4 separate regions of the Homo sapiens genome follow, and all the other regions are linked to region 1. Evidence: promoter capture Hi-C in human tissues and cell types (Jung and others, 2019). All regions are on one chromosome and are shown on one strand. The core of a region is centred on a gene start or on the middle of the fragment in contact, and the rest is flanking DNA. Distances in the headings are between cores, read along the strand shown. Region 1 holds the start of TDRD9 (tudor domain containing 9). Region 2 overlaps KLC1 (kinesin light chain 1). Region 3 overlaps KLC1 (kinesin light chain 1). Region 4 overlaps COA8 (cytochrome c oxidase assembly factor 8).

The links. Contacts are between HindIII fragments. The study calls those that stand out against the background at their distance.
Region 2: a contact is called between a fragment that was not itself captured here and the fragment with the promoter of TDRD9 in region 1, in 2 of the 25 tissues and cell types used here (adrenal gland and dorsolateral prefrontal cortex).
Region 3: a fragment that was not itself captured here is called in contact with the fragment with the promoter of TDRD9 in region 1 in 2 of the 25 tissues and cell types used here (dorsolateral prefrontal cortex and spleen).
Region 4: a contact is called between a fragment that was not itself captured here and the fragment with the promoter of TDRD9 in region 1, in 1 of the 25 tissues and cell types used here (dorsolateral prefrontal cortex).

What each region holds. Positions count from the first base shown.
Region 1 is chr14:103,927,086-103,929,785 of GRCh38, reverse strand. TDRD9 (tudor domain containing 9) reads right to left here and starts at 1,330. Exons shown (of 36, transcript NM_153046.3): 1 at 1,062-1,330. The coding sequence starts at 1,276. The HindIII fragment of the contact is 10,851 bases long and covers 1-2,700 here.
Region 2 is chr14:103,635,331-103,638,030 of GRCh38, reverse strand. All of the region lies in intron 1 of KLC1 (kinesin light chain 1), which reads right to left. Among named protein-coding and RNA genes, the nearest start is that of KLC1, 7.5 kb to the right of the region's middle. The HindIII fragment of the contact is 4,003 bases long and covers 1-2,700 here.
Region 3 is chr14:103,656,189-103,658,888 of GRCh38, reverse strand. KLC1 (kinesin light chain 1) reads right to left here. Exons shown (of 17, transcript NM_001394837.1): 3 at 1,113-1,343. Among named protein-coding and RNA genes, the nearest start is that of KLC1, 28 kb to the right of the region's middle. The HindIII fragment of the contact is 3,897 bases long and covers 1-2,700 here.
Region 4 is chr14:103,588,781-103,591,480 of GRCh38, reverse strand. It overlaps COA8 (cytochrome c oxidase assembly factor 8), which reads right to left. Exons shown (of 5, transcript NM_001370595.2): 5 at 585-1,300. The coding sequence ends at 1,195. Among named protein-coding and RNA genes, the nearest start is that of COA8, 27 kb to the right of the region's middle. RefSeq lists enhancers at 196-695, 696-1,197. The HindIII fragment of the contact is 3,008 bases long and covers 1-2,700 here.

The DNA.
Region 1 (2,700 bases), core at 81-2,580:
CACTTTGGGAGGCTGAGGTGGGCAGATCACCTGAGGTCAGGAGTTCTAGACTAGCCTGGCCAACATGGTGAAACCCTGTCTCTATTAAAAATACAAAAATTAGCCAGGCGTGGTGGCATATGCCTGTAGCCTCAGCTACTCGGGAGGCTGAGGCAGGAGAATCGCTTGAACCTAGGAGGGGGAGATTGCAGTGAGGCGAGATGGCGCCACTCCACTCCAGCCTGGGTAACAAAGTGAGACTCCATCTCGGGGGGTGGGGGGAGAACTTGGAAGCAACCAAGCTCTCCTTCAGTAGGTGAATGGAGATAAACTGTGGTACATCCAGACAGTGGAATATTAATCAGTGCTAAAAGGAAAGAAGCTATCAAACCATGGAAAGGCATGGAGGAACCCCCAAATGCATACTAATACTAAGTGACAGAAACCCATCAAAAAGGCTACACATACTGTGTGATTCCAACTAGATGACAGTATGGAAAAGCAAAATTATGGAGACAGTAAAAAAATCAGTGGTTTCCACGTGGTGTAGGGAAAGGGAGGCAGGAACAGTGGGGCCGAGAAGATCTGTAGGTCAGTGAACTCTGTAATGCGTGACGTTAGGCGTTTGTCCAAACCCACAGAACGTCCAGTACGAGGCGTGAACCCTCCTGTAACGATGGCCTCCGGGTGACGAAGACGCAGCGATGCAGGTTCGCCGACTGTCACAAATACCCACACCTTACGCAGATGCTCACAGGGGAAACTCTGGGAGGGAAGGGGCCTATGGGACCTCTGCCCTCCGCTCCGTTATCCTGAAAACCTGAGTGCCTCAAAAACTAGTCTGTTAAACATTAAGAACTGAAAAAAAAAAAAAAAAAAAAACCTCTAGCTCAGCTTCCTTACAGGCACCGCTCTGGGCCGCGCGTCGGGTTGTGTAGTGACCACTCGCCCTGGACGGTCAGGGGTCCCTGGAGCCCCGCGAGAGGGCACGGGCTCGCGAGAAGGATCTGGATGGCCCGTGCCCTCGTCGCCAGGCCTCGCCCGGCCGCCCTCCAGCCGCCTCCGCCCCGCCCGCGTCCTACCTTTCGAACGCAGCGGCCGGCCGGGCCGGAGCTTGGGCCAGAGCCGGAGCCTGGGCCGCGGGACCAGCGCCGGGGGCCACGTCCTGGCGCTGCACCTCCTCCCTGGCCGCCCCTGCCGGGAAGGCGGGCGGCGCGCCCAGCAGCTCCACATTGGTCACCGTCTTGCCGATGGTGAACCAGTCGTTGATCTGCTCGATGGTGAGCTTCCGCAGCATCCTCAAGGCCCAGGCGTCGGCATCCCCCAACTGCCGGGTCTCCGCGGCGGGAACAGGCGACGGCGGAAGCGCACCCTGGAAGCCCCGCCCCCGCTCGAGGCCTTCCAATCAGAACGCGCCGCGCGCCCTTGTGGGCGGGCTCCGGCCCGGGCGCGTGCTGCCCGCGCTGCCTGGTCCTCGTGCCGCCGGCCCCGCCCCGCCGCGCTAGGCCTGCCGGGAGCCGCCGCCCCGAGCGAGCCCAGGGTGAGCCTTTCTAGGACCTCAGGGGAAGCTTGAGCGCCGCGGCTGGCCCGGGAGTCTGTTTCACGGGAGTTCCGTGGCAACCCCTGTGTGTACAAGAAAATGCCCTCCGGTCACTCCCTGGCCTCTCTATTTAGAGGCTGCTGCCTCGGAGGTTTGTGCGCTTTGAGCGGACCGGGACCCTACATACGTTTCTTGAGCACCTCAGGGTGAGGAGATGGAAGGCAAACCAGAGAAGGGATTTGCGTTCGTGGGTCAGACGTACCAGGACATCCTTGCACCTAATATGGGGGGAGAGGGGCAAGAAGAAGGTCAGGAAGGTCTCGGAGAAAGTAACGCCAGGCAGACCCCTGCAGGATACGGGGGAATGCGCCAGACGGAGGACCACCCAGGGTTATAGGGGAGGGCAGGCGGCCCTGATGGCTGAGGTGAGGATCTGGGAGAAGTTCTTTGCAGCCGGATCATAACTGAATTCATCTTCCTTCCTAAACCGGTGTCTCAGGCGGCGGTGTCAGACTCACAGCTGGACACAAACAGGTGCGGACAGGAGGTCCAGGCGATCACATGGACCAAAGATACAGGCTGAGGTGGTCCCGGCCGAGCTCTAGAAGAGTGAGGGTGGAGAACAGAGCCCTAGCAAACTCCCCAAAAGAAGGAGCCGCGGGAAGAAATCAACAAAGGATGCACGGGAAGGCAGCCACGTGTGCAAGGGAAGGGAGGGTCAGAAGAGAGACATGGCCACCTGCCTGGGGTGTGTCCCCCTCACTGGCCAGGGCAGGATCTATCTGGCCCATGTGGGCTCTCAGGAAAGAGCCATGTGAACAAATACAGAGACGGTATCGAGAGCATGGCTCTAATCAGCAGTGTAAAGCCCAAGCAGTGGCAAATAAGAGGGCGGTTTGAAAACACTGTAGACAGAAATCAGGCAGGTAGGTTGAGCTATTGGTGTCTCAAAAATTGAACCCATAATCATACTAAGCCAGGAGTTCTGGCTCCAAATCCTGGCATAATGAGCTCTAGACCTCATATTAGGACTCTGCCAAATACGACAGGTTCCCAAAAGTGCCTCAACACACTTTGCCAGGAAGAAATAACTTGCTTTTCTTTTTTCTTTTGAGGCAGGGTCTCACTCCTGTCGCTGAGGCTGGAGTGCCGTGCTGCAATCAGGGCTCACTGCAGCCTCA
Region 2 (2,700 bases), core at 3-2,502, 290 kb after region 1:
CAGTCCACGTCATATTCAGGGAAATAAATAGTATCTTGGTGGCCCAGCATAGTGGCTTACGTCTGTAATCCCAGCACTTTGGGAGGCCAAGGAGAGCAGATCATTTGAGCCCAGAAGTTAAAGACTAGCCAGGGCAATGCCATGAAACCCTGTCTCTACAAAAAACAAGCCGGTCATGGTGGTGCGCACATGTAGTCCCAGCTACTTCAGGGGCTGAGGTGGGACGATCACTTGAACACGAGGCTGCACTGAGCCACGACTGTGACACTGCACTCCAACCTAGGCAACAGAGCAAGATCCTGTCTCAAAAATTAAATAAATACATAAATATTTTTTTAAAAAGAAAACATTAACAACCAGACAAAACAAATGCATCTATTTGGCCTTTGGGTGACTTATTTATAGATATGCTTTCAGAATTAAGGAAAGCGGATGTTGCTTAGGCAACAACAAAAAATAAAAGATAAAAATAAACCCTGCGAAAATTTCTTTTTTTTTTTTGAAACAGAGTCTCACTCTGTTGCCCAGGCTGGAATGCAGTGTCGCAATCTCGACTCACTGCAACCTCTGCCTCCCGGGATCAAGCGATTCTTCTGCCTCAGCCTCCCAAGTAGCTGGGACTACAGGTGCACACCACCACGCCTGGCGAATTTTTGTAATTTTAGTAGAGACGGGGTTTCACCATACTGGCCAGGGTAGTCTCAAACTCCTGACTTCATGATCCACCCGCCTCGGCCTCCGAAAGTGCTGGGATTATAGGTGTGAGCCACCGCGCCCAGCCGAAAATTTCTTTAATAAAACTTGCCAGAGCATGGTTAAGAAAAATTAAAAGTATTGATTTATTAAAAGGCACTACCAAAAAATAAAGTTAAGCCATAGATTAGGAAAAAATATTTGCGACACATATATATCTGGCAAACGGCTTGTATAAAAAATACGTCAGCCTGGGCAATAGAGCAAGAGCAAGACTCCATCTGAAAAAAAAAAAACATGTAAGGAACTGCTGGGCGTGGTGGCTCACGCCTGTTAATACCAGCACTTTGGGAGGCCAAGACGGGCGGATCACGAGGTCAGGAGATCGAGACCATCCTGGCTAACATGGTGAAACCCATATCTAATAAAAATACAACAAAAAAAAAAATTAGCTGGGCGTGGTGGCAGGCGCCTGTAGTCCCAGCTACTCCAGAGGCTGAGGCAGGGGAATGGCGTGAACCCGGGAGGCAGAGCTTGCAGTGAGCCGAGATCGCGCCACTGCACTCAAGCCTGGGCAACAGAGGAGACTCCATCTCAAAAATAAATAAATAAATAAATATGTAAGGAACTTAAAAATACAAACAATCCAATTTTTTAAATGGGCAAAAGTCTTGAACAGACACTTTACAAATCCAGGCATACAAAGACCGACAAGCATGTAAGCGCTCACCATTATGAGTCATCAGTGAAATGCACATTAAAACTAACAAGATGCCACTATACCCCGCTAGAATGGCTCAGATGAAAAAGACAGGCAAGGCCAGGCACGGTGGCTCACGCCTGTAATCCCAACACTTTGGGAGGCCGATGGGGGGTGATCACCTGAGGTCAGGAGTTCAAGACCAGCCTGACCAACATGGAGAAACCCATCTCTACTAAAAATACAAAATTAGCCCGGCATGGTGGCCCATGACTGTAATCCCAGATACTCAGGAAATTAAAGCAGGAGAATTGTTTGAACTCGGGAGGCAGAGGTTGCAGTGAGCTGAGATCGTGCCACTGCACTCCAGCCTGGGCAACAAGAGTGAAACTCCATCTCAAAAAAAATAAAAAATAAAGTATTGAAAGTAGTCAAAATCATAGAAACAAAGTAGAAAAGATGGTTACCGGGGGAGGGCGAGGGAGGAGGAGATATCAGTATTTGGGGGCTACAGTCTCAGCGCTGCCAGATGAAAGAGTTCCAGAAATGTGGAACAACGATGTGCATATCCTTAACACTACTGAATTGTGAACTTTTAAATGGTTAAAATGGTACATCTTTGAAAAAAATTGAAGTGGCGCGAGGTTTCCCCAAGAAAAAGTAATGATAGGATTAAACAGCATTATCATGATTCACTTGAAGCTGCAGCTTTAAGTACTGCAAGGTGATTCAAAGCTTATACCGCGAAGCAAAAAAACTGAGTTAGAATCTTGACTTCACAGCTGTGTAACTTTGGTTTCTGAAACTTCCCCTCTCTCACCCTCAAATTCCTCAACAGTAGAATCTCAGTAACAGTACCTATTTTACTTTTTTTTTTTCTTTTTGAGATGGGAGTCTCACTCTGTCGCCCAGGCTGGAGTGCCGTGGCTCGATCTGGCTCACTGCAACCTCCGCCTCCCGGGTTCAAGTGATTCTCCTACCTCAGCTTCCCAAATACCCGGGACTACAGAAGCATACTACCACACGCGGCTAATTTTATATTTTTAGTAGAGACAAGGTTTCACCCATGTTGGCCAGGCTGGTCTCAAACTCCTGACCTCAGGTGATCCGCCCTCCTCAGCCTCCCAAAGTGCTGGGATTACAGACATTAGCCACCAAGCACAGCCTTTTATTTTTTTAAGAAACAAGGTCTCACTATATTGCCCAAGCTAGTTTGAACTCCTGGGCTCAACTGATTCTCCCACCTCAGCCTTCGGAGTAACTGAAACTACAGACACATATGACATCCGCAGGGTTTACAGTACCTA
Region 3 (2,700 bases), core at 114-2,613, 270 kb after region 1:
TCAGGAGATCAAGACCATCCTGGCTAACGCAATGAAACCCTATCTCTACTAAAAATACAAAAAATTGGCCAGGCGTGGTGGCACACACCTGTAGTCCCAGCTACTCGGGAGGCTGAGGCAGGAGAATCGCTGGAGCCCGGGAGGTGGAGGTTGCAGTGAGCCAAGATCGTGCCACTGCACTCCAGCCTGGGTGACAGAGTGAGACTCCATCTCAAAAAAAAAAAAAAAAAAAGTTAACTGAATCAGAAATAAATGTTGAATGAAAAATAACTGAGACTAGGATAAACATCCAAATAGAGCCAACAGAGAAAGAAGGCTGGGCATGGTGGCTCCCACCTGGAATACCAGCACTTTGGGAGGCTGAGGTGGGCAGATCACTTGAGGCCAGGAGTTCAAGACCAGCCTGGCCAAAACAGTGAAACCTCATCTCTACTAAAAAAAAAAAAAAAAAAAAAAAAAACTTAGCTGGGCATGGTGTCACACACCTGTAATCCCAGCTACTCCAGAGGCTGAGGCAGGAGAATCACATGAACCCGGGAGATGGAGGTTGCAGTAAGCCAAGATTGTGCCATTGCACTCCAGCCTGAGTGACAGAGCGAGACTCCTTGTAAAAAAAAGAAGAAGAAGAAAACCAAGATCGTTTCTTCCCCTGCAGATACAGAAAGATAAGCTGGCAAGGGAAGCCAAGGGGAGGATGAGAGAGGCGGCAAGAGAGCCAGGTGGTGTCCAGAGGGCCAGGGGAGTTTCAAAGAGAATGGCAATGCCAAGAGCACCCACCCTAAGGGGCAGAGAGGTTGCCCAGAGTCCAAATTCAGACGGCCAGATTGGACCACTGCTAGACCAGCAGCTGATGGCATGGAAGCCAAGCTACAGAGGGGCAAGGAAGCTCCAGAGCCTAAGCTGGGGCAGACCTCGGGACAGACCTCGGGGCAGACCTTGTTGAAGGTAATGGTGTCTCTCTGGATTGTGGCTTATATTTACAAAACATTTTTGCATGTTCTAATGTTCTAATATGTTCTAATATGAAAAGAATATGGCAAACAGAACCTCTATGACTTTCCCAGTGACTCCATTTTAAACATTAGCACCACATTTGCTACAGAGCCACTCACGGATGGGGAAATGTCGTCATCATATTTTTTTAGCTGATTCATAAACTCCAGATGCTTCTTCTCCTCCTCCAGTTGAGCCACAGACTGCTCACTCTTCTGCAGTTTCTGCTGCGTGTTGGCCAGTTCATCCCGTAGCCACTGATTCTCCTGGCACAGACGACGAACCTGCGCACGCAGTTTCTGCTTCTCGGACTCCACAGCATTCAGGTGATTTGACAAAGCCATCATAACCTGAGCAGACAGAAACGTGTGCAGCACTGTGGCACGTTGTCCAGCAAGAGTCCCTCCCACCCGTGCGAACATTCTGTGGCTGGGGCTGTAGCTTACACTCGCAGATATTTTCTCCAAAGTACATATAAGTACAATCTGCCATTTACTTCTCTTTTCCCCTTCAGCCACAGACTACAAAGCAGGGTATGATAAAGAATATCACACGCTCAGAATGCCTACAAAAAAATACTTATTTTTTTGAAGAGCATGCCAAATGAACTAGCAATGAAAACACAGCTACCCTTCTGATGAAACTGTATTATTTTACTTTCTATCAAGATGGGCCCAACATAATTTTTTATAGACCCTTTCCCATGTGTAAGACCTCGTGTACACACATGCATGTCTGCGCACAGAGTGCATGTTGGTGAAGGGCTGCAAGTGGGGGTCAGAGAACAGTGCACATACAAATCTTCCTTGATGTTCCAAGGTGAGAGAAGACATCTCTGTAGCTACCACCAAGAGTAAGAATGCACTGGTGCACTCATAAGCTTATGTTTATGTCATAAAATCCAGGGGCCACTCCAGGGCTCTGCCTACAGAGTGCTCACTGGTTTCTGGAACAGACCAGCGTGAGGCTGTGGCAAGTTCCTAGGAGCATAAGAGCACAAACAGCTAGGAGCTGGCTGGCAGCAATCTGTTCTCTCTTTAGAACATACATCTGCCCATCCCTCTCATAACATAATAACCAGGTTATTATCCTCCTAGGTTTAAAACCTGAAACTCCAGAAGGTGGGACCTTTTCTTCCTTCTTTTTTTAAAACTCTTATCTGCGACACCAAAAAAGCAAGTTTAAATTCATGTCACCTGTTCTCAAGGTAACAGAACTTGAGAAATAATACGTTCACAATATCCAAACAGAGCTACAGTTCTGCAACTCAAGGCTGTAACATGGTTAGGATGAAGACTCTAAAATCAGGGTGTGGGCAGTCACTTCCTCTATGAAAGCAGAAACCGCTGGCCAGCAGCCCCTCTTCTGCTCTATTCACTCACTAAACTAGAGAATGCTAAGAAAGAAGCAAAGCTTTGGTATATTTAATTTTACCTAAGATATGCTGACAGAGCCAGAAGTTATCAGGAGAGAGTATTTAAAAACCTAGATGTTTCCAGTGTTTTCATCTCTATGTCAAGCATGATATTATAGAAACAAAGGTTAGTCAAAGATATGAAGCAATCTGGCCCTGGGATTGCAGAGACCATCACCCACTGGCCAGTGTCCATTCTCCTTCCTTAGGCTTAAGGACCTGCCACTGTAAGTGGGAAGACAACATTCCCCAGTCTCCCACTCACCCAGGTACAGCCATAAGGTCTGGCCAAT
Region 4 (2,700 bases), core at 8-2,507, 340 kb after region 1:
TTTATTATTTTTTTAAATTTTTATTTGAGACAGGGTCTGGCTCTGTTGCCTAGTGGTAGGATCTTGGCTTAGTGCAGCCTGGACCTCACTGGCTCAATCAATCCTCGAAGCTCAGCCTCCCGAGTAGCTGGGACTACAGGCGCATGCTACCATGCCCAGCTAATTTTTGCATGTTTTGTAGAGGCAGGGTTTCGCCATGTTGCCCAAACTGGTTCGAACTCCTGAGCTCAAGTGATTTGCTTGCCTTGGCCTCCCAAATTGTTGGGATTACAGGTATGAGTCACCATGCCTGGCCATTTAACCTTCGTGTTTAAGAAAAGAGGAAAATAGTGCTGCTGTTTCTTGTTAATTTGCTTATAGCATTGAAGAATCTACTAACATAGTTAACACCAAGAATCAAGTTAAACTTTTTGGCATGCAATAAAATTGCATTTGCTTTCATGTCCTCACACCGCACTGCATTCAGGACGCAGCCTGTGAGGACCCACCAGCTGACGACTCACAGTGAGGGTGGTGCTGACTCCACGGCCAGCACACCGATCGCTTGGCAGTCAGCTTCCACATCATTCCCGTCAGCAGACTTCTTTTTTCCAGTAAAACTTTATTAATTATTATTATTTTTTGATACAGAGTCTCGTTTGGTCTTCCAGGCTGGAGTGCAGTGGTGCGATCTTGGATCACTGCAACCTCCGCCTCCTGGGTTCAAGCGTCGCATGCCTCAGCCTCCAGAGCAGCTGGGATTACAGGTGCGTGCCACCACACCCAGCTAATTTTTTGTAGAGACAGGGTTTTGCCATGTTGTCCAGACTGATCTTGAACTCCTGATCTCAAGTGATCCACCCGCCTCGGCCTCCCAAAGTGCTGGGATTACAGGTGTGAGCCACCGTGCCTGGCCAATATTTTTAAATAGTTCTGTTTTGAATTGGTATAATTCGAAACACAGGAAACGGGCACCCAGTGCTTGGGCTTTATTTCACACCACGTACGTGACAACAAGCTGGCCTAGAGCCCACATCAGCAGGCAGGCGGCCCACAGTGCCCCAGGACCTACCCTGCCCCCAAACAGGCCATGGGGCCCCTTAGGAAGATGTGGGGCTTCTTGAGATCAGCTCCAGTTTTTCTCAGAGCCCCTGTGAAAGGAGCTCCATCTGCTTCCTGTGGAAACCTGGACTCTGGCTGGGTCAGAGTGGACTCCTAGTTGCTCCTCTTCTTTTGTTTCTGTTTAAGCTTGTTCCAAATCCTTTCCAGGGCCACTTTTCCCATGAAGAAGGTGATGGCAAAATTGCGCTTGTACCAATCTCTGTAGAGAAACAGAGGATGCACAGGTGACACGGTGGCAGGGACTGAGGCTTGGTGCCCTGGCCCAGAAGTGGCTCCCAGTTGAGGATGAGTTCAACTGACCAGGCCTCAACTGCTTTGCCCTTTCCCTGCCCTTGTTAAAGCTAAACTATTCATAGAGGCCTGCCTCTCCTCAGGCTGAGAGTGAGGCCCACTGGCGACGCCTGGAGTCCTCTCCAGCCCTGTTTCTGGAGGCCGCCACCATCCTCCTTTGGTGTTTTTTTTTTTTGAGACGGAGTCTCGGTCTGTCGCCCAGGCTGGAGTGCAGTGGCGCGATCTCGGCTGACTGCAAGCTCCGCCTCCCGGGTTCGCGCCATTCTCCTGCCTCAGCCTCCCGAGTAGCTGGGACTACAGGCGCCCGCCACCACACCCGGCTAATTTTTTGTATTTTTTTTTTTTAGTAGAGACAGGGTTTCACCGTGTTAGCCAGGATGGTTTCGATCTCCTGACCCACCTGCCTCAACCTCCCAAAGTTCTGGGATTACAGGTGTGAGCCACCGCACCCGGCCCCTCCTTTGGAGTTTTTTTTGTTTTGTTTTTTCATCTTGCTTAGTTGTCCAGGCTGGAGTACAGTGGCACAATCTTGGCTCATTGCAACCTCTGCCTCCTGGGTTCAAGTAATTCTTCTGCCTCAGCCTCTTAAGTACTCCTTTGATTTTTGCTAAAAGATCCAAGAGAGCCCTTGGAAACCCCAGGCCTGCCGAGCTGGCAGCATTTTAGGGATGTGATGGGCCACGACCACTCTGGAGGCTCTGCATGGCAGGACAGAAAGTTCCTCTCCACCTGCAAACCACCTTTACACCTCCACCTACTTAAGCAATGCTGTCATGAGGAGCAGTGCCCAAAGTAAATAAGCGCTTCCAGGAGAAGAAAACCGGTAGCCCATGGGGATTACAGTTCTTCAAGGAAAAGCCATATTCCATTTCACTAATACAGACGACCTGATTCTATGACATGTAAAAGCAAGCTACACTTCTGCTGTTGCCACAGGGAAGGCAGGGGCAGGAGGTGGTGGTGGGGGCCAGGCTCCTCTAAGGCCTGATCTTGGGTAAGGCTGGTCCTCTTCACCCGAGTGCCACAGAGAAAACATGAAGCCCATCAGAGACTGTGCCCCGTGCAAACAAGCTACGTGTCCAAAGACCAGGGAAAGATTATACTCGCTTGTTTGAATGACTTAACTAATTCAGAGTAATACATGACAACCTTAGAAATGGAATCCAGATATTTCAGGACTAATCTTTAGGTCAGACTGTCCCTCACTGAGTCCATCCAGCCTTTGACTGTATCTATATTCTCTTTTTTTATTAGGGTCTCACTCTGTAGCCCAGGCTGGAGTGCAGTAGCGGGATCTCGGCTCACTGC